Regions from separate parts of the Homo sapiens genome. Here all the other regions are linked to region 3. The links are contacts of gene promoters, found by promoter capture Hi-C in blood cells and fetal thymus (Javierre and others, 2016). All regions are on one chromosome and are shown on one strand. The core of a region is centred on a gene start or on the middle of the fragment in contact, and the rest is flanking DNA. Distances in the headings are between cores, read along the strand shown. Region 1 overlaps ILF3 (interleukin enhancer binding factor 3). Region 2 holds the start of SHFL (shiftless antiviral inhibitor of ribosomal frameshifting). Region 3 holds the start of CDC37 (cell division cycle 37, HSP90 cochaperone). Region 4 holds the start of ANGPTL6 (angiopoietin like 6).

Region 1 (5,087 bases), core at 1,115-3,614, 260 kb after region 3:
TGGTACAGTCATAGCTCAGTGCCATCTCAAACTCCTGTGCTTAAGCAGTCCTCGCGTCTCAGCCTCCCAAAGTGTTGGGGTTATAGGCGTGAACCACTATGCCTGGCCAAATATATGTATATATATTTTTGTATATATTTTTTTAAATTTTATTTTTGTTTTTTATTTTATTTTTATATTTTGAGACAGAGTCTTGCTCTGTCGCCCAGGCTGGAGTGCAATGGCGCGATCTCAGCTCACTGCAGCCTCAGCCTCCCTGGTTCCAACGATTCTTCTGCCTTAGCCTCCTGGGTAGCTGGGATTACAGGTGCACTCCACTACGCCCAGCTAATTTTTGTATTTTTAGTAGAGACAGGGTTTCACCATGTTGGTCAGGCTGGTCTCGAACTCCTGACCTCAGGTGATCCACCCACCTTTGGCCTCCCAAAGTGTTGGTATTACAGGTGTGAGCCACTGCGCCTGGCCACTTTATTTTGATGATGCATTTCAAACTAAGTAGCAGGAAGTTGCAAGTCTTCCCTCTACATATTATTAACTAGAATTTAATATTTATTTACAGTTCTTTTTTGGGGTGGCGGGGGTCAGGGTCTCACACACTTTTTTTGCCCAGGCTGGAGTGCAGTAGCACAGTCTTGGCTTACTGCAGCCTCCATCTCCTGGGCTCAAGTGATCCTCCTCCCTCAGCCTCCTGAGTAGCTGAAATTAACGGCAGGTGCCACCATACCTGGCTAATTTTTTTTTTCTTTTTTTTTAAGAAGGAGTTTCGCTCTTGTTGCCCAGGCTGGAGTGCAATGGTGTGATCTCGGCTCACTGCAACCTCCGCCTCCTGGGTTCAAGCGATTCTCCTGCCTCAGCCTCCCGAGTAGCTGGGACTACAGGCACGTGCCACCAATGCCCAGCTAATTTTGTATTTTTAATAGAGACGGGGTTTTGCCGTGTTGGTTAGGCTGGTCTCAAACTCCCGACCTCAGGTGATCCACCTGCCTCAGCCTCCCAAAGTGCTGGGATTCCAGGCATGAGCCACCGCGCCCTGCCTACCTGGCTAATTTAAAAAAAAATTTTTTTGGAGACCAGGTCTGATTATGTTGCCCAAGTTGGCCTCGAACTACTGTGCTCAAGTGCCTTGGCCTCCCAAAGTGCTGTGATAACAGGCGTGAGCCACTGCTCCTGCCTCACTTTATTTTTATGATGCATTTCCAACTAAATAACAGAAAGTTCTAATCTTCCCTCTACATACTAACAAGAATTTAGTATTTATTTGCAGCTAGGTTTTTATTTTTTTCTTTAAAAATTTTTTTTGTAGATTCACTCAGGCTGGTCTTGAACTCCTGACAAGTGCTGCTCCCAACGTGGTGAGCCACCATGCCCAGCCTCTTTTTTCTTTTTAAATAATGCACAGATCTTTAGTATACCAGTCAGTGAATTCTGGCCACTGCATATACCCAACTCTTGTCAGGAGGGAGAATGTAACCTTCATCTCAGAAAGCTTGGGAGGGCCCCTTCCCATGTGATCCCTACCACCGTTCCCCAGAGGCTGTCCCATCACTGATTAGTTTCGCTTATTCTAGAACTTTATGTAGGTGGAAGCATGATTCTTTTTGAATTTGTTCCAAATGTAGCCAGTGGGACACCTCACAAGTCAGCTCCGATGTCCTCAGGACAAGACTGCTATAGTCACCAGTGCTTTGTTGCTTTCTGGCGCTCCGGTAGGATCCAGGCTCACTTGGTATATCCCCTGCTGCAGATTACGGTCCACTTCTCCCGGGAGCTGCTTTCAGTAGGTTTTTGTTGTTGTTATATTTTTGTTTATTTATTTATTTCGAGACATTCTCTTGCTGTGTCAGGTAGGCTGGAGTTCAGTGGTGCAATCTCGGCTCATGGCAGTCTCCTCCCCAGTTCAAGGAGGTCAAGGAGTTCAAGACCAGCCTGGTGAACATAGTGAAACCCTGTCCCTACTAAAAATACAAAAATTCGCCGGGTGTGGCGACACACACCTGTAGTCCCAGCTACTAGGGAGGCTGAGACAGGAGAATTGCCTGAAACTGGCAGGCAGAGATTACAGTGAGCCGAGATCACACCACTGCATTCCAGCCTGGGCGACAGAGCAAGACTCTCTCAAAAAAACAAAAAGTGTTGGCTTTGCATCGTGGCTCACACCTGTAATCCCAGCACTTTGGGAGACTGAACTGGGAGGATCACTTGAGCCCAGGAGTTTGAGACCAGCCCACGCAACATGGCAGCAACCCATCTCTACAAATAATTAAGAACAAAAAATCTATTATGGAATTTTTAAAACATGCACAAAAGAATTACAGTATCCATCACCCAGCTTCAACAGCTGTCAGTGTTCTACAGTCTTGTTTCATCCTTCTCTACTTTCCTTTTTTTTTTTTTTTGGAGACGGAGTCTTGCTCTGTCGCCCAGGCTGGAGTGCAGTGGCACGATCTCGGCTCACTCACTGCAAGCTCTGCCTCCCGGGATCATGCCATTCTCCTGCCTCAGCCTCCCTATAGCTGGGACTACAGGCACCCACCACCATGCCTGGCTAATTTTTTGTATTTTTAGTAGAGACGAGGTTTCACCGTGTTAGCCAGGATGGTCTCGATCTCCTGACTTCGTGATCCGCCCGCCTTGGCCTCCCAAAGTGCTGGGATTACAGGCGTGAGCCACCACGCCCGGCCTCATCCTTCTCTACTTTCTGCTCCCTGGTATATTTCAGAGCAAATACCAGGTATATAATTTTAGCCATAAATTTGTCTTAAATATGTGTGGAACAGTTAAAGTTGGTTCTTTCCAGCACAACCACAGTATTATTCCCCTAACTGAAGTAACTATAATTCCTTCATAAGGATTCACTTCATGAACAAGATTCCCAGTGTCGTTGCGACTATCCAGGGAAACCATAGCCAAGGGAACAGGCTTGGCAGAATCAGTGGCGAAAGAAGGCCCTGTGGAGCTTGACTCTGGCTCGGTGAAGAGACATGGGTGATGGAGGAGAGGATGCCCTTTGCACACACATCACTCACGCCTGGCCCTCATTGCAGCCTGGGAAGGCAGATTTTTTTCAACAGTAGGATCTAGTACCAATTGTTAGGTCTATGGGATATGTGCTGCATGCTTCAAGTAGGTTGACTTGTTTCATTTTCCTAGTCCTGCCGAGAGTAGAGGGGCCTCTTCCGTGTTGCTAATGCAAGAAGGAAGCTAGTGGCTGGGCAAGTGGGGTTTCAGGTCCAAGTCTGTGCAGAAGCTTTCCTTGGGCGATCGATCGAGTGGCTTGCCCCATGGTGTGAGTCTCAGGCATGTTGAGCCACTGAGCCCAGGGACTGGCTTTCTGCCCTTTTCATCCCATGCCCCCTCACACTCCTTCCCTCCTGCATCCCTACCCTGACATGAAGCCTTTGACCTCACCATGTCCTGTTGCTGGGCTTTGCAGGGGCATCATTTGACTCCTAGGGGTTTTTTGTTTTGTTTTGTTTTAAATGAGACAGAGTTTTGCTCTTGTCACCCAGGCTGGAGTGCAATGGTGTGATCTCGACTCACCGTAACCTCCGCCTCCCAGGTTCAAGCAATTCTCAGGCCTCAGCCTCCTGAATAGCTAGGATTACAAGCATGTGCTACCACACCCGACTCATTTTTTGTATATTTAATAGAGACAGGGTTTCACCATGTTGGCCAGGCTGATCTTGAACTCGCGACCTCAGGTGATGCCTCTGCCTCGGCCTCCCTAAAGTGTTGGGATTACAGGCGTGAGCCACCGCGCCTGGTGACCCCTAGGTTTTATTTATTTATTTATTGAGACGGAGTCTCGCTCTGTCACCCAGGGTGGAGTGCAGTGGCGCGATCTCAGCTCACTGCAACCTCTGCCTCCCGGGTTCAAGTGATTCTTCTGCCTCAGCCTCCTGAGTAGCTGAGACAACAGGCATGTGCCACCACACCCGGCTAATTTTTTGTATTTTTAGTAAAGATGGGGTTTCACAGTGTTAGCCAGGATGGTCTCGATTTCTTGACCTCGTGATCTGCCTGCCTTGGCCTCCCAAAGTGCTGGGATTACAGGCATGAGCCACCGCACCTGGCCGGTTTTATTTATTTATTCATTTATTTTTTTTGAGGTGGAGACTCTATTTGCCACGCAGGAGTGCAGTGGCGCAATCTCAGCTCACTGCAACCTCTGCCTCCCGGTTTCACGCTGTTCTGCCTCAGCCTCCCTAGTAGCTGGGATGACAGGTGCACGCCACCACATCTGTCTAATTTTTGTATTTTTAGGAGAGATGTGGTTTCTCCATGTTAGCCCAGCTAGTCTCTAACTCCTGACCTCAAGTGATCCACCCACCTTGGCCTCCCAAAGTGCTGGGATTACAGGCGTGAGCCACCTCGCTCAAGCACCCTTAGGTTTTAAAGTTTAACCTTGGGGTGTTTAAATTTTGCAGTTAGATTTGCTAGGTAGTCCTGGGTATTTTGGGAAGTTCTTGTTTTGGCAGCATGTCAGACTTTATCCTTGATGCTTGGGCCTTTCAGGTTTGAGCCTGCTCTGCTGGCTCGGAACTAGTTTAGTCGGAAGGGGCTGGCAGTTGCCTGTAGGGGGTAGATTCATCTGGTGTGTATTATGCTGATGGGGTTTTTTGGTTGTTTACTCATTTGGAAGATTTCAGTATGGACCAGACTGTTTGTGTAGAGTGGGAATTGAGTAGGTTGGAGTCGGCATGATTCTGAGACCGAAATAGTAATTATGGCTTCGTTTGTCCTGAAGGATTCTGTCGTGCACTTCAGTTGTCTCAGCCTCTTCAGAGTTGAACGTGATGTGGTTGTCATCGTCCACCTGATATTTCAAATGTTCACTTTTCGGGAGGTTCTTTCTTTTTCATTTTACAGAAGCCTTTTGGGACCCTTTGTCATATGTCTTTCTTCCTTCCACCTCTTCATTACCATCAGAGGTCAGAGCTCCTTCCCTCTCTTTTCCTTCCCCAAGCACCAAGATTTTGATGTGAACATCTTTTTTTTTTTGTTTTTTTTTTTTGAGATGAAGTCTTGCTCTGTCACCCATGCTGGAGTGCAGTGGTGTGATCTCTGCTCACTGCAGCCTCCGCCTC
Region 2 (5,017 bases), core at 2,181-4,680, 320 kb before region 3:
CCCAAATAGCTGGGATTACAGGTACCCGCCACCACGCCCAGCTAATTTTTGTATTTTTAGTAGAGATGAGGTTTCCATGTTAGCCAGGCTGGTCTCGAATTCCTGACCTCAGGTGATCCACCTACTTTGGTCTCGTAAAGTGCTGGGGTTACAAGAGTGAGCCACCGCGCCTGGCTGATGGGGTCTCACTATGTTGCCCAGCATGGCCTCGAAATCCTGGCCTCAAGTGATCCTCCTGCCTTGGCTTCCCAAGTGCCGAGATTACAGGCATGAGCCACTGTGCCCAGTCAATGAGCTTTTAATGTACATAATGTGGCTGAAGTGATGTGGGACTTTCAGGCTAGATCATAAAAAGATACAACTTCCACCTGGCTCTCAGCTCTTGGAAGGTGCTCGGGAGGCCAGCTCCCATGCTGGGAGTACACTCATGCCACTCAAGTATACTGGGAGGAATCGAGGCATCCCGCCAATCATAGCACCCATCTGCATGCCCTGAGAGTGAGCCACCTTGGAAGCAGATTCGCCAGCCCCCGTCAAACCTTCAGATGACTGAAGCCCTGACCAACTCCTTAACTGCAACCTTCTGAGAGGCCCTGAGCCAGAACAGCCCAGCAGCAAAGCCATTTCTCAAGTCCTAAGCTACAAAGACCACATGAAATCATAAGGATGGACCAGGTGCAGTGACTCACACCTGAAATCCCAGCATTTTGGGAGGCCAAGGCAACAGGATCACTTAAGCCCAGGGGTTCAAGACCAGCCTGGGCAACATAGTGAGACCCCCCCGCCCCCAGCTCTACAAAAAAGTATAAAAATTAGCCGGGAGTGGTGGCACATGCATGTAGTCCCAACTACTCGGGAGGCTGAGGCAGGAGAATTGCCTGAACCCGGGAGGCAGAGGTTGCAGCGAGCCGAGATCGTGCCACTGCACTGCAACCTGGGTGACAGAGCAAGACTCTGTCTCAAAACAAAAACAAAACCCAAACAAAACAACAACAAAATAACAAACAAATTAGCCGGATGTGGTGGCACATACCTGCAGTCCCAGCTACTCAGAAGGCCAAGGCCGGAGGATTGCTTGAGCTCAGGAGGTTGAGGCTGCAGCGGAGCTATGATTGTGCCACTGCACGCCAGCCTGGGTGACAGAGTGAGACCCCGTCTCTTAAAACAAATTTAAAAAAATGCTAGCTCTACGAGGGCAGGGATCTTTGTTTTGTTTGCTGTCATGTCCACAGTGCCTGGAACAGCATTGGGAACAGAGTACACGCTCTATGTGGTTGCCACGGTGATTATAACCTAACAGACCTTTGGTCTGCATATTCTGCGCTAAAAAAAAAAATCAAAAAACAAAAAACCTACCAGATCTGATTTATGTCAGGGCTAGCTCAGACTCTTACCTGTTTCCTGCCCACTCAGTGCCCATCTCGGCCAGTGAATGGGACATAGCTATGACCTCCCTCTGCACTGGGCAAATAGATTAGTAACTGGCAACTATGACAGGCGATCCACTCCAAACCTCGCCACTTCCCTCAGGATAAAATCCCAGGTCTTCTGTGCAGTTTCCAGCCCCCATCCTGCCTAGGATTCCACCATTCAGCCACAAGGAATCATGAACTGCTTGTAGTTTGCAAATACAGTAGTCTCCAGAGTGGAGTACATACACCCTATAAACAAAGCTTTGGGGTTCAACTGGAAAAACTTTAGAATATCTAGATTTGGGGGGTTTTATTGTTTGTTTTTTAGTCTTTTAAAAATAACTTTTTCCTTTTCTTTTTTCTTTTTTTAAAGACAAGGTCTTGCTATGTTGCCCAGGCTGGTTTTGAACTCCTGACCTCCAGTGATTCTCCCACCTTGACCTCCCAAAGTGCTAGCATTACAGGTGTGAACCATCATGCCCAGCTCCATTTATCTATCAATATTTTATATAACAGTTAACAGAATATATTGATATAATTGTATTTGTATATAATTTATAAATAATATCCATCTTTGAGGCCAGGAGTTTGAGACCAGCCTGGGCAACATAGTGAGACCCCGTCTCTACAAAAAAAATAGAAAATTAACCAGGCATAGTGGCATATGCCAGTAGTCCCAGCTACTTAGCAGGCTGAGGCAGGAGGATCGTTTGAGCCCAGGAGTTAGAGGCTGCAGTGAGCCACCATCAAACCACTGCACTCCAGCCTGGGCAACAGAGCAAGATCTTGTCTCAAAAAATAAATAAATGAATAAATATCCATCTGGGGGTGTAACTTTAACACTTTTACCTATAGGGGTGTGCAATGGAGAAAAAAATTTGGAGTCGTTGAACACAATGCTATTTTGCTCCTCAGAGAGTATCCGGCAGTCTCTGGAGACGTTTTTGGTAGTCACAACAGGGAGAGTAGGGAACCACTGGCATCTAGTGGGTGGAGGCCAGGGATGGTGTTAAATGTCCCCCAATACACAGGACAGTCCCCCACACAAAGAACTAGGCCGCCCAAAGTGTCAAGAGTGCTGGGCTTGAGAAGCCATTGCCCAAAAACCCCAGACTTAGTCTTGCTTTGGGGGCTCTGCACGGCTGCCTCATCTCCCCACTCTATTCCTCCCCTAGCTAAGACCTCCAATTTCAGTGACTCTACAAAGCATCCCCTCCTCCAATGAAGTTGCCATCTCTGTGTCCCCAGGCTGGGCCAGAGCCCCACCACCTAAGGGCTCCCTGATGTGCCCTGTACTGGGTTAGAATTGTCCGTCCCACGGGGTTCTTAACCATTGCAGATTCCCTGGATCCCTGAGACAGCCGGATTCTACCGGGCTACTAGAGACCAAGAATCTGTATTTTTCTCAAGCACCGCTCCCCCCAACCACACACACACTGCCTGCCCCTATCAAGGGCACACAGCAGGTGGCCCAGTGACTAGTTGAACGCCTACTGCAAGCCAGGCGCTATTACGCGATCCACTCGGGAATCTTGGCACATACTCCACTCCATGGTGTAGACACCAGGATTCTCCCCATTTCACAGAGGGGTAAACTGAGGTTGAGAGAGGTGACCGTAGCTAGGACAGAGACTCAGGGCAGGAAAAGGGCCCAGGTCCTCATGAGCGCCAGATTCCCGGGGAAGGAGGGAGAACAGAGAGGAGGGTGATGAACTGGGGGAGCGCGCGCTGGGTGGGGGGGCGCGGGGCCTCGCCGCGGCCTTCTGATGCGGCCCCGCCCCCACGAGGGACGTGAAGACGCGGACCCCGCGCAGCGTGGGGACATGTGACCGACTGCAGAGGCCGCGCCGCCTCCCCCGTCCGAGGTCTGCGCGCTCCGCCGCAGGGTGCAGACCCGGGGCGCCCGCCTGGGTTTGGGGCGCAAGAGCAGAGGCGGAGCCAGGGCGGAGCCAGCGCGCCGGGTCCCCCCTGAATCGAAAGCGAAACAGGGGCCGGGGAGGAAGGGCGGAGCCGGCCCCGAGGCACCGCCCCCTGCCCTGCGCGGCTGCTGGACCGACGGGCGCACCCAGGTAGGGGGGCGGCTGAGCCGCGCAGTGCGGACCCTCGCGGGGAACTGCGCCGCCGCCACCATGTCTCAGGAAGGTGTGGAGGTAAGCGATGGCTACGGCTGGGCCGGGGTCAGCCGCGACAGACCCCGAGGAGCGGCCGGGAGGCGCGGAGGGGGCTTCGCAGTTCCTGGGGACCCCCATCCTAGAACCCCAGATCCTTACCCCTGCCTGGCGCTCGCCCCCCTTGAAAAGGAAAGTGACTCCCACGTTTCCCCAGAGCGAAATGAGGCCTCCCCGAGGAAAAGCGGGGGCTGCAGGGTCAAAGGTCAGAGGCCAGAGATAACCTGGCCGCCCCCCCACACCTTAGGCTGGGACGCTCGCCCCAGTCCGCGCCTTCCCCCAACGCCCTGTGGGGACTTTGGCTTTTTCCAGGAAATGCCGTAAAGGGATGAAAGGCGGGGGGGGGGCGGCGGAGGCCAAAACCAAGGGTCAAGTTCGGGCCGGGAGAACGGTGCCTAGAGATGGGGGAGGGATGATCCCGTTTCCCCTTCCCCCACCGGAACCCCCCTGTCTCCATCCCAGCTGGAGAAGAGCGTCCGGCGCCTCCGGGAGAAGTTTCATGGGAAGGTATCCTCCAAGAAGGCGGGGGCTCTGATGAGGAAATTCGGCAGCGACCACACGGGAGTGGGGCGCTCCATCGTGTACGGTGAGGCTGCAGGGGTCCCGGGCCTGGTGCGGGGACCGCGCGTGGGAGCGCCGAGGGGGCGTGGTCTAGGGAGAGGCGTTGAGATCACCTCCCCCGGAGGTCCCAGCCTTGGGGAGGCTCTGCGTCGCGGCTCTGGGTGGCCTGGAACTCCCACAGACCCTTCAAGGGCCCTTCCCTTATATGCACTCTCCCCCGCAGGGGTAAAGCAAAAAGATGGCCAAGAACTAAGTAACGATCTGGATGCCCAGGTAACCTATCCCCTCCCCTCGCAAAGGACCGGGTCACGGGAGGGAGAGCAAGAGGGGGGACCCGACCCGTTCATGGTGACTGACCCCCCTCTGAAACAGGAGGGACCAGGCATTGTCGGTCCATAACTCATCACCCAATCTCACTTTTTCACCTCTCCATCATTTGTCCGGCCAGGGAGCCTGCAAACAGTAGGCGCTCATTATGTGCTGATTGTATTCAATGGGGGAGAGAGCCATGAAACTAAGCAATGAAAGGAGCCAGGATTATTGCCATCATAGCGGGGGCGCAGAGGTCAGAGAAGGCTTACTGGAGGAGGAGGTACCAAGTCTTAAAGGATGGGGAGGAGTGAGCCCTGGGAGGGGAAAGGGAAAGAAAGGCAGGGGTCTTGGGGTGGGGGAGGGAATGGCATAAGCAAAGGCTGGGAGGTGGGGAAGGGTTGTTAGTGGCAGTCTCTAGAAAGGCTAGGATGAGCAGAGGATTGGGGAGGAGAGAGAGGCAGGGGAATGGAACCCTTGTGTTGAATGAATGAATGAATGAATGAATGAATGAATGAATGAATGGCTTTGAAGCACAGGTGCATCATGGCTACTTTGCTTCTTTGA
Region 3 (5,081 bases), core at 126-2,625:
AAAAAAAAAAAAAAAAGGAATACAACAGACACTGGTATGTAATGCAGGCACACTCATTTGGGGTAGCAGGAGGTTAAACCTTTAAGTCTTAGTCATCCCATTGGCTCGTGAGCACTGAGAGGGTGGTGGGACATGGATCACCCAGGCTTGGGATTCTGGGGTCTGGATTCGGGACCTCTGTTGTGGTCAGATAGAAGAAGGGGTGGTGAATTTAGAATCAGACCAGGAGAGTCCCTGGATAAGAGCAGGGACAATTTGGGTCACAGAGTAGCTAACAGGCTGGGGACAAAAGGTGGGGTGGGTTTGGGGTTCTGGGCTTGAGTTAGGGGAGAGTTTCCAATGCTGGCTGAGGCTCATACAGGAAGCCAGTCTGGGAAGTGGGTGGTGACAGGGTCTGCAATACCAAGTAGGAGCAGGGGCTCTGGCTAGGCCGGAAGCCACGTGGGCAGGATTTCCTGGTATAATGGGAAATGGGTCTACCGGAGGCCAAAGGAGAGGCTGGAATGTGAGGCTCTATCGGGTTGGAGCTGGTAGTTAGATCCAGAGGGGAACCAGATTCCAAAACCCAAGTACTCGGTGAGACTAAGGATCCTGAAGGGGGACGGTTCTACACTCTAGGAAGGGGGTCCTGGGTGTGGGCAGGGACAGGAATATCAGAGTAGCACAGAGTTCCTTGTTCCGTTTAGAAAAGGAGTGGCGACTCCGGATCTGAATGGGAACCCCGGATCAAGATCCCGGAAAGTAGATCCCGGGACAGACCAAAGTATTGGGGGTCCAGACTACGGAGGTGGGGGGGCGATGGGAGATCCCAGATAGGAAGTGAATACCCGAATAGGATGAGGGATCATCTAGAAGAATTTGGGGTCCAAACTTTGAGGCAGAGTTCTGGGTATAAATGTTAACTGCCGAACAGAATTAGGGAGAACCCCCAAGACTCGTCTAGGGGACTCCAGACTATGAAGAAGTTCTAGGGGGTGAATAGGGAATCCCACGCAAAAATCGGAGCAGGGAGTGGGGGAGCGGAGATCCAGGGCAGGGACTCAGGGTCCCAATGGTACTGGGGTCCCGGAGTTGAATCGAAGCTCCTGAAAATCCAGACTGGGGGGGTGAGAATCCTAGGTGTGAACAGCGGGGTCCCTGGGCAGTATCGGGGATCACAACTCCGAAGCGGGGTCCGGGAGTGGGGAAAGGGATGGGCGCGCGCGCCTTACCTGATGCCGCCAGCGGAAGAGACTGGCCGTGTCGATGTTGGGGTGCGTCTCGTCTTCATCATCAGACACCTCAATGTGGTCCCACACGCTGTAGTCCACCATCTTGCCTTGGCGGCCCAGCCCGCTCCGGCTCGGGTGGCGGCGACGGCGGCAGCAGTGGAGACTAGGAGCGCGGAGCCCCGCCCCTTCCGCTTCCGCCGAGCGCGGGAAACCCCGCCCTGTGTGACGTCACATCCCTAGTAACCGCGGCAGCGGCACTAGCTACCCAGCCAGCCTTAAAGGGCCCTGCGTAAGTGTTCCGGCCCCCTGGAGTTCCCGCAGAGACTCCGCGTCATCGGGCGCTGGGGCTCCGCTAGGTCTCCTGGGGGCATATGAGTGCGCGCTTCAACTCCGAGCCCCCCTCATCTCCCGCCGCTCCACGGTGGGCGTTTGGGGTGGCAGGGAGGGGACGGTTGATGAGACTGAGAGGACTGTCCCCTCAGCCACGCCGCAGTGACGTCTGCAAGGGGTAGGGACACGGCGGGAAGGCCCTCCCCCTGCCCTTCGTAAACGGGGACCTAAGCCTGCGCTGGAGAGGGGCGCCTGATGACTCCTCGGACTTTCTCAGCCCGAGGAGGACTGGACCTGCCCTGGGGGTGTCTAAATCGGGGGTGGTATGGCCCTCCCCTTGCAGGGTTAAACGTGGAGGGGAGACTGTGGCCCTGCCTTGGGAGCTGGGGTTTCCCCGCCTCGGCAACAGCCTTCTCCTTGTCTTCCACCTCCTGCCATTCGCAGCGAGGACTCGCGCGAGCGCGCGCGCGCACACACACACACACACACACACACACGCACACACACACACACACACACTTTGGAATCACCCGGACCCCCTCAAAACGGGTCTCGGCTCCCCACCCCGCTGGCCGCTGGGTGTCGCTAGAGTCTAGCCCACGGCGCGTATTCCTGGCCCCGCGCTTGGTGGGGGGAATCGTGGAGGGGTGGAAGGGGGCTTTCCTTGTCGTCACAGTCTGGGGCCACGCATAGCCCCTCCCCGTTCGTCTTGGGGTACGCTTCCTCCGCCGGGGCTCTAAGGACTCCATTACTCTAAGCATGCAGGGCCTCGACCACCTCACACTTCCATGCATCCCAATCCACGCTTTGATACCAGGATAATAGGCCGTGTTGCAGCCTTGGGCCAGGATTATCTCAGATTAAAGGGTGCTCCCTCGGGGGTCAGGCTGGATAGGAGGAGCTCCAGCCACTCCGGTGAGGGGCGCCTCTTCCTAGTCTCCCCTGGAGCCGACGTTGGAGGCAGTGCCTGGAGAGAGCGAGCGAAGTTCTCCAGAAGGGGGAGGATTCCCCGGTGCATGGAGCGGGAAGGGCCATCGGACAAAAACGTCCTCCCGCTGCCGCCCTTCCCCCTCGCGCTTCATTCAAACCCGCGAGTGGGCGGGCAGGGGCGGGGGAGTCCCCATCTCCTACCCCTCCCTCTTCCCCTCCACCCTGGCAGTCCAGCACATCAGTGGCCGTCACGGCCCGGGCACGCGCGCGCACGGACCCACACCCCGGCGGCTCTCACAATCGCACACACACATACACACACACACCAGCAAACAAAGGGTCTGGACACCCCCGTCCCCTCCCGCCCCCCAGGCCAGGGAGGGCGGGGCATCCCCTCCCCAGGCCCCCCGCAAGGTAAGCTTGGGGCTGCGAGCTGCGGTGGGGAGGGGGACACGGTGCCACAGTGGGAGGGGGCCAGGAAGGTAGGGGGTTCCCCGGCTCCCCAGGAAAGTCGTACCCCCACCCCCACCGTATGCCCTTTAGGGATTCGGCCCCGTCATCAGCCTGGGGGTGTTTGGAGAGAATCCCAGATGTCGGGGATTCCCGGATAGGCGCGGGGGTCTCTTCCTGGCTCTGGAGACTGGAGCTGCCCAGCTTCAGCAAAACAGGGTTCCCGGAGCCTCAGCTTCCAGAACTGGGGATAGAGCGCCGGAAGCTTCCCCATCAACCCCAAGCATTTCCTAATCTGCCAGCACAGCACCTCCAGCCCTGGGGACTGAGGAGAGAGACCCCTAAGTTGCTTTGCACTGTCCCTCTGTCCCCGGTCCCCATCCCACCCCCATCGGTGCAAACCCTGCTATGTCTCTCCTGCCTGTGTGTGTGTGTGGGGGGGAGGTTTGCGGGAATTGGGAACGCTTTTTGGGGCTACCTTTGCTTCTTCTGCTACATCCCATAGCCACATACCACTGAGCTGCGGTGGGGCCCGGCAGGCGGCTTTGCCTTCCTGAGTCTCAATTTCCTCCTCTGCAAAGTGGGTAATGACACACACCTAGGATTCCGCGAAATCGTGCTCGCGGAGCCTGCTTTTGCGCCATCATTTTATTTATTAGCTCATTTCACATCTCTTTCCCAAGTGTCTACTTACGATGTACTGGGCACTGTGACCAGGCTTTGGGGCAGCAGCAACCAACAAACCCAGTAGGGGTCCCTGCTCCTGGCTAGTGAGGGAGCAGGATCCCTGTATAAACATACAAATCCCCGCGGGTGATTTCAGACTGTGAAGACTAAAATTCTGTCCTCGGACAGAGAGAGACTAGGGAAAGGCACTCAAGATTAAAGGAGAAGCTGGGCACAGTGGCTCACGCCTGTAATCCTAGCACTTTGGGAGGCCGAGGCAGGCGGATCACTTGAGGTCAGGAGTTCGAGACCAGCCTGGCCAACATGGTGAAACCCCATGTCTACTAAAAATACAAAAATTAGTCGGGCGTGGTGGCAGGCGCCTGTAATCCCAGCTACCCGGGAGGCTGAGGCAGAAGAATTGCTTAAACCCGGGAGGCGGTGGTTGCAGTGAGCCAAGATCACACCACTGCACTCCAGTTTGGGTGACAGAGCAAGACTCTGTCAGAAAAAAAAACAAAAAACAAAAAACAGATTAAGTAAGACTTCTGGATCCTGCCTGCCTTCCTCCTTGGGTCTGAGCTCATGAGGGCAGGATCAGGTCTAGAACAGTGCCTGGCACACAGTAGGTGCTCAATAAATGTTGAATGAGCGTGGCACCCTGGTGTGAGCCTGTAGTCCCAGCTACTCGGGAGGCTGGCTGGAGGATCCCAGCGACACCCATCTCTAAAAAAAAATAAAAACAAAAAATAAATCCTTAGCTGGGCATGGTGGCACACGCCTGTAGTCCCAGCTATTCAGGATGCTGAGGCAGGAGAATGGCTTGAACCCGGGAGGCAGAGGTTGCAGTGAGCTGAGATAGTGCCATTGCACTCCAGCCTGGGTGACAAGAGCAAAACTCAAAAAAAAGAAAATCTTAAATGAATTAAAGAGGGGATTAGTTTAAGACTAGATTCTAGAACTGTAGATTAGGAAGAAGGCTTAGCATAAACCAATCCACCCCACTCCCTTGAATTTGATACAGGAGACAGTGAATCCCAGAATGTCAACATTTCTACAAAATTGAAGATGGGCCCAGCACGATGGCTCACATCTGTAATCCCGATAATTGGGAGGCTGAGGTGGGAGGATCACTTGAGCCCAGGAGGTCGAGGCTGTAGTGAGCCATGATCACGTCACTGCACTTCAGCCTGGGAGACAGAGTGAGACTCTGCCTCACCAAAAAAAAAAAAAAAAAAAAAAAAGAAGGTGGTTAAAGCAAGGGTTGTGAACAGCTGTGGACAGAGACCAGAACTGAGCACTGTGTGCCCAGGAACTCATGGTGTCCAGCCAGTGCCCACTCTTCCCCACATAGCATATAGACACAGCACTGCTTTCATCTATTCAATATTTATTCAGCACCTACTATGTACCAGGTGCCAGGGACACAGCAATTAACAGAACAAAACTCCCTGCCCCAGTGGAGCTGACATTTAGTGGAGGAAACTGAAATGA
Region 4 (5,016 bases), core at 2,344-4,843, 300 kb before region 3:
AAGACACCATCTGGATGACAGCAGCTGCCTCCCTGCTCTCTGGATTTCCATCCTCAACCCCAGGTCTAGTCTCTCTGACAGCAGCCAGAGGGCGCCTGTGAACATCTGAGTCAGTTCACGTCCCTCCCTCCCTCCTCTGCCCTGAATCCTTCTTGGCTCCCACCTCCTTTAGAGGAAAAGCCCAAATCCACCCATGATCCATAAAAAGTTGCGCTATCTTGGTGACTCACGCCTGTAATCCCAGCACTTTGGGAGGCGGAGGCGGGCGGATCACGAGGTCAGGAGATCGAGACCATCCTGGCTAACACAGTGAAACCCCGTCTCTACTGAAAATACAAAAAAAGTAGCCAGGCGTGGTGGCGGCTGCCTGTAGTCCCAGCTACTCGGGAGGCTGAGGCAGGAGAATGGCTTGAACCCGGGAGGCAGAGCTTGCAGTGAGCCGAGACTGTGCCACTGCACTCTAGCCTGGGCAACAGAGCAAGACTCCATCTCAAAAAAAAAAAAAAAAAAAAAAAAACTTGTGCTATCTGCCATATCCCCTTCTGCCCTCCTCCCAGGCCCTTCCTCACACGAAGCAAGTTCCAGCCTCAGGTCCTTTGTACCTGCTGTTTTTGCAGCCTGGAACATTGTTCACAACTTAACATCATTCCCTTCCTATCCTTATTCAAGTCTCAGCAGCGCTCCTTGAACAGCAGATTTAGGGTTGTACCTCCATATACAAGCTCTCTCTCTCTCTGTCTCTCCCTCTCTCTCTCTCTCTTTCTCTCTTTCTCTCTCTCTCTCTCTCTCTCTCCCCCACGCCCTCTTTTTTTTTTTTTTAGACGGAGTCTCGCTCTGCAATCTCAGCTCACTGCAACCTCCACCTCCCGGGTTCAAGTGATTCTTGTGCCTCAGCCTCCCAAGAAGCTGGGATTACAGGCATGCGCCACCACACCCAGCTAATTTTTGTATTTTTAGTAGAGACAGGGTGCCTGATCAACAGGTGAAATCCCGTCTCTACTAAAAGTACAAAAAATTAGCTGGGCGTGGTGGCGCATGCCTGTAATCCCAGCTACTCGGGAGGCTGAGGCAGAAGAACGGCTTGAACCTGGCAGAGGTTGCAGTGAGCTGAGACCGCACCACTGCCTTCTAGCCTAGGCAACCTGGGTGAGACTCCATCTCAAAAAAAAAGAAAAAAAAGAGAGAGTCGTGCTCTGTTGCCCAGGCTGGAGTGCAGTGGAGCAATCATAGCTCACTGTAGCCTCCAATTCCTGCACACAAGTGGTCCTCCTGCCTCAGCCTCCTGAGTGGTTGGAACTACAGGTGCGCACCACCATGCCCAGCTACTTTTTTGTAGGGAGGGGGTCTCACTGTGTTGCCCAGGCTAGTCTCAAACTCCCAGGCTCAAGTGATCCTCCCACCTTGGACTCCCAAAGTGCTGAAATTACAGATGTGAGCAACCACACTGGCCCTAAACCTATGCTTCCTGATGCCTGCACAAGCACATATCCCGAGGGTCTCCATCTCACACACACATTGCCTCATTCATGCATTCAACCACAGACACCTTGAGTGCCTATTGTGTGCCAGGGATGCTGTTTTAGGCAATGAGGACACAGCCTTAACCCAAACAGACAAAATTCCTGCCCTTGCAGAGCTGACATTCAAGTTGGGAGAACAGAGAAATAAGTCAAACAGCCGCTAGGTAGGTCAGAGGGTAATCGTGCTTAGGAGAAAAATGGAACAGGCAAGGGGGTGACAGTCCCGGAGGTGGGGGACATTTAATAGAGGAGTCAGGACTGGGTGTGCTGACTCACGCCTGTAATCCCAGCACTTTGGGAGGCCGAGGTGCCTGTAATCCCAGCACTTTGGGAGGCCGAGGTGCCTGTAATCCCAGCACTTTGGGAGGCTGAGGTGGGAGGATCACTTGAGGCCAGGAGTTTGAGACCAGCTTGGCTAACGTGGCGAAACCCTGTCTCTACTGAAAATACAAAAATTAGCCAGGCGTAGTGGCACGCGCCTGTAGTCTCAGCTACTCAGGAGGCTGAGACACAAGAATCACTTGAACCCGGAAGGCAGAGGTTGCAGTGAGCCATGATTGCACCACTGCACTCCAGCCTGGGCAATAGAGCGAGACTCTGTCTCAAAAAAAAATAAAATAGAGGAGTCAGGAAAGGCCTCACAGAAGAAGTGACACTTGACTGGAACAGTGCCTCATGCCTGTAATTTCAGCACTTTGGGAGGCCAAGGCAGGAGGATTGCTTGAGCCTAGGAGTTTGAGACCAGCCTGGCCAATATGGTGAAAGTCCATTTCTACTAAATATAAAAATAAAAATAAAATAAAGAATAAGGGACACTTTCACAAAGACCTGATGGAAGAGAGAGAAGAGGAAGAGCATTCCAGGCAGAGAGAACAGCAGGTGCAAAGGCCCGGAGATTGCACCCAAGAAATGGCAGAAAGGGGCCAGGCACGGTGGCTCACGCCTGTAATCCCAGCACTTTGGGAGGCCGAGGCGGGAGGATCACCTGAGGTCGAGAGTTCAAGACCAGCCTGGCCAACATGGTGAAACCCCGTCTCTACTAAAAATACAAAAATTAGCTGGGCATGGTAATGCATGCCTGTAATCCCAGCTACTACTCAGGAGGCTGAGGTGGGAGAGTCACTTGAACTCAGGAGGCCGATGTTGCAGTGAGCAGAGATTGCGCCATTGCACTCCAACCTGGGCGACAGAGCAAGGCTCAAAAAAAAAAAAAAAAAAAAGGCCAGGTGCGGTGGCTCACGCCTGTAATCCCAGCACTTGGGAGGCCAAGGCAGGTGGATCACGGGGTCAGGAGATCGAGACCATCCTGGCTAACACAGTGAAATTCCGTCTCTACTAAAAATACAAAAAAAAAAAAAAAAATTAGCCGGGCATGGTGGCGAGCGCCTGTAGCCCCAGCCACTCCAGAGACTGAGGCAGGAGAATGGCGTGAACCCGGAAGGCGGAGCTTGCAGTGAGCTGAGATCGCGCCACTGCACTCCAGCCTGGGTGACAGAGCGAGACTCTGTCTCAAAAAAAAAAAAAAAAAAAAAAAGAAATGGCAGAAATGTCTATGAGGCCGGAAGAGAGAAGGGGGAAGCAGGAGGAGGTAAGAAGTGTCAGGGCAAAGTGTGAAGGGTCCTGTGGGCCCGGAGGAGGACTTGGGTTTTACTCTGAGTCAGGCAGGAGCCATGGAGGGTTCTGGGCTGGAGATGGCCACATTTACTTCTGGACTCAGACACCAAGCAGGGGCTCACAAGGATCCGGGGGTAGGGTCCTCTCTTTGTCCCCGATCACTGACATGCCCCACCCCCCACAACAGAGATTGAGCAACCCCCCAGAACTGGGACGTGTGTATAACACCCGCTGCCTTTTACACTCTCAGCCTGGGGTGGCGGGGTGGCCTGGGGGCCCCCAAGCCAAGCTGTGGTCGGAGTTTCCCCACAGTGAGAATCAACCTCCACCTACCTTCCCACCCTCTCACCTCTGATGCCCAAGACCCTGAATCCAGCGAAGCTCACAGAACACACAAGAAGTCCAAGGAAGAGCCGAGGGTCCAGTGGGGCCTCTGAGCTAGAGACGGGGAGAGGGCAGTGGGACAGAAGGAGAGAGGAGGCTTGGTAACCACTCCCCAGCCCCCAGAGCCTGGGAGTGGAGCTGGGATGCTGGGCCCAGGAGCCCAAACTATAAATATTTAGCATTTCCCGAATGAGAAATGAGACAGAATTGCCAGACCCCCCTGCCCAGGCCACCAGAGCCTGATAACACAGGTCAGTGTCCTGGACATCCCTCCCTTTCCCCCACACCCTCCACTGCAGAGCCCAGAGCGTGGGAGGCTGCAGGCCCTGGGGCAGCCAGGCGTGATCCCAGCCCCAGACACGCACACACCACACATAGAAAGAGGAACATCACTGGGGACTTACCGTGTGTAGGGCTTGGCTCTAAACTCTCCACACCTTTTACGTATTTGATCCTTACAACCTGAGCTGGATTCTGTATGTACCCTCATTTTACAGCAGGGAAAACTGAGGCTCAGAGAGGGTAAGCAACTTGCCTGCGGTCACACAGCCAAAAAGAGACCAGGATGGGAGCCAGCCAAGGTAGCTTGACTCAGAAACTCACACATGTACACCACAGCTGTCACACACATATGGGCACATAACAGAGTGGACACAAACACACACACACACATTTGCACGCACGCACACATTAACACCCAGCGAAAGTCTGGGTGCAGTGGCTCATGCCTGAAAGCCAGCACTTTGGGAGGCCGGGGCAGGTGGATTACCTGAGGTCAGGAGTTCGAAACCATCCTTGCCAACATGCTAAAACCCCGTCTCTACTAACAATACAAAAATTAGCTGGGCATGGTGGCATGCGCCAGTAATCCCAGCTACGCGGGAGGCTGAGGCAGGAGAATTGCTTGAAGCCAGGAGGTGGAGGTTGCAGTAAGCCGAGATCGAGCAACCGCATGCACTCCAGCCTGGGCGACAAGACTGAAATTCCATCTCAAAAATAAATAAATAAATAAATAAATAAATAATAAATAAATAATAATAAAGTGAGGAATTAATTAATTAAAATAAAAAATAAATATAAAAGACACAGCTGTAAATTTTTAAATTGTGATAGAAACAATATATTCTTAAAGTGAAAACCCTACCTCAGTTACATGTGATTTATGTTTTTTGGATTAATCTGGATTTTATAATTAGAAATAAAAATGTAAGGCTGGGCGCGGTGGCTCACGCCTGTAATCCCAGCACTTTGGGAGGCCAAGGTGGGCAGATCACGAGGTCAGCAATTCGAGACCAGCCTGGCCAAGATGGTGAAACCCCGTCTCTACTAAAAATACAAAAATTTGCCGGGTGTGGTGGCCCATGCCTGTAATCCCAGCTACTCAGGAGGCTGAGGCAGGAGAATCGCTTGAACCCGGGGGGCGGAGGTTGCAGTGAGCCACTGCACTCCAGCCTGGGCGACAGAGTAAGACTCTGTCTCAAAAAAAAAAAAAAAAAAA

The links. Contacts are between HindIII fragments. The CHiCAGO score rates a contact against its expected background, and 5 or more counts as called.
Region 1: a fragment that was not itself captured here is called in contact with the fragment with the promoter of CDC37 in region 3 in 11 of 17 cell types (activated CD4 T cells, total CD8 T cells, M1 macrophages and 8 more); the score reaches 8.1 in activated CD4 T cells.
Region 2: the fragment with the promoter of SHFL here is called in contact with the fragment with the promoter of CDC37 in region 3 in 11 of 17 cell types (total CD8 T cells, neutrophils, erythroblasts and 8 more); the score reaches 9.0 in total CD8 T cells.
Region 4: a contact is called between the fragment with the promoter of ANGPTL6 here and the fragment with the promoter of CDC37 in region 3, in 12 of 17 cell types (total CD8 T cells, neutrophils, non-activated CD4 T cells and 9 more). The highest score is 8.7, in total CD8 T cells.

What each region holds. Positions count from the first base shown.
Region 1 is chr19:10,664,873-10,669,959 of GRCh38, forward strand. The region is part of intron 1 of ILF3 (interleukin enhancer binding factor 3); the gene reads left to right. Among named protein-coding and RNA genes, the nearest start is that of ILF3, 13 kb to the left of the region's middle. The HindIII fragment of the contact is 1,761 bases long and covers 1,485-3,245 here.
Region 2 is chr19:10,082,887-10,087,903 of GRCh38, forward strand. It overlaps SHFL (shiftless antiviral inhibitor of ribosomal frameshifting), which reads left to right and starts at 3,431. Exons shown (of 8, transcript NM_018381.4): 1 at 3,431-3,562; 2 at 4,043-4,166; 3 at 4,365-4,414. The coding sequence starts at 3,542. RefSeq lists silencers at 3,130-3,349, 3,420-3,699. The HindIII fragment of the contact is 8,670 bases long and covers 1,672-5,017 here.
Region 3 is chr19:10,402,167-10,407,247 of GRCh38, forward strand. It overlaps CDC37 (cell division cycle 37, HSP90 cochaperone), which reads right to left and starts at 1,376. Exons shown (of 8, transcript NM_007065.4): 1 at 1,212-1,376. The coding sequence starts at 1,313. MIR1181 (microRNA 1181) reads right to left here and starts at 1,372; the gene lies at 1,292-1,372. RefSeq lists silencers at 1,092-1,151, 2,862-2,911 and an enhancer at 1,552-1,901. The HindIII fragment of the contact is 3,760 bases long and covers 1-2,888 here.
Region 4 is chr19:10,099,085-10,104,100 of GRCh38, forward strand. It overlaps ANGPTL6 (angiopoietin like 6), which reads right to left and starts at 3,594. Exons shown (of 6, transcript NM_031917.3): 1 at 3,484-3,594. RefSeq lists a silencer at 139-188 and enhancers at 3,604-3,653, 3,724-3,773. The HindIII fragment of the contact is 11,381 bases long and covers 1-5,016 here.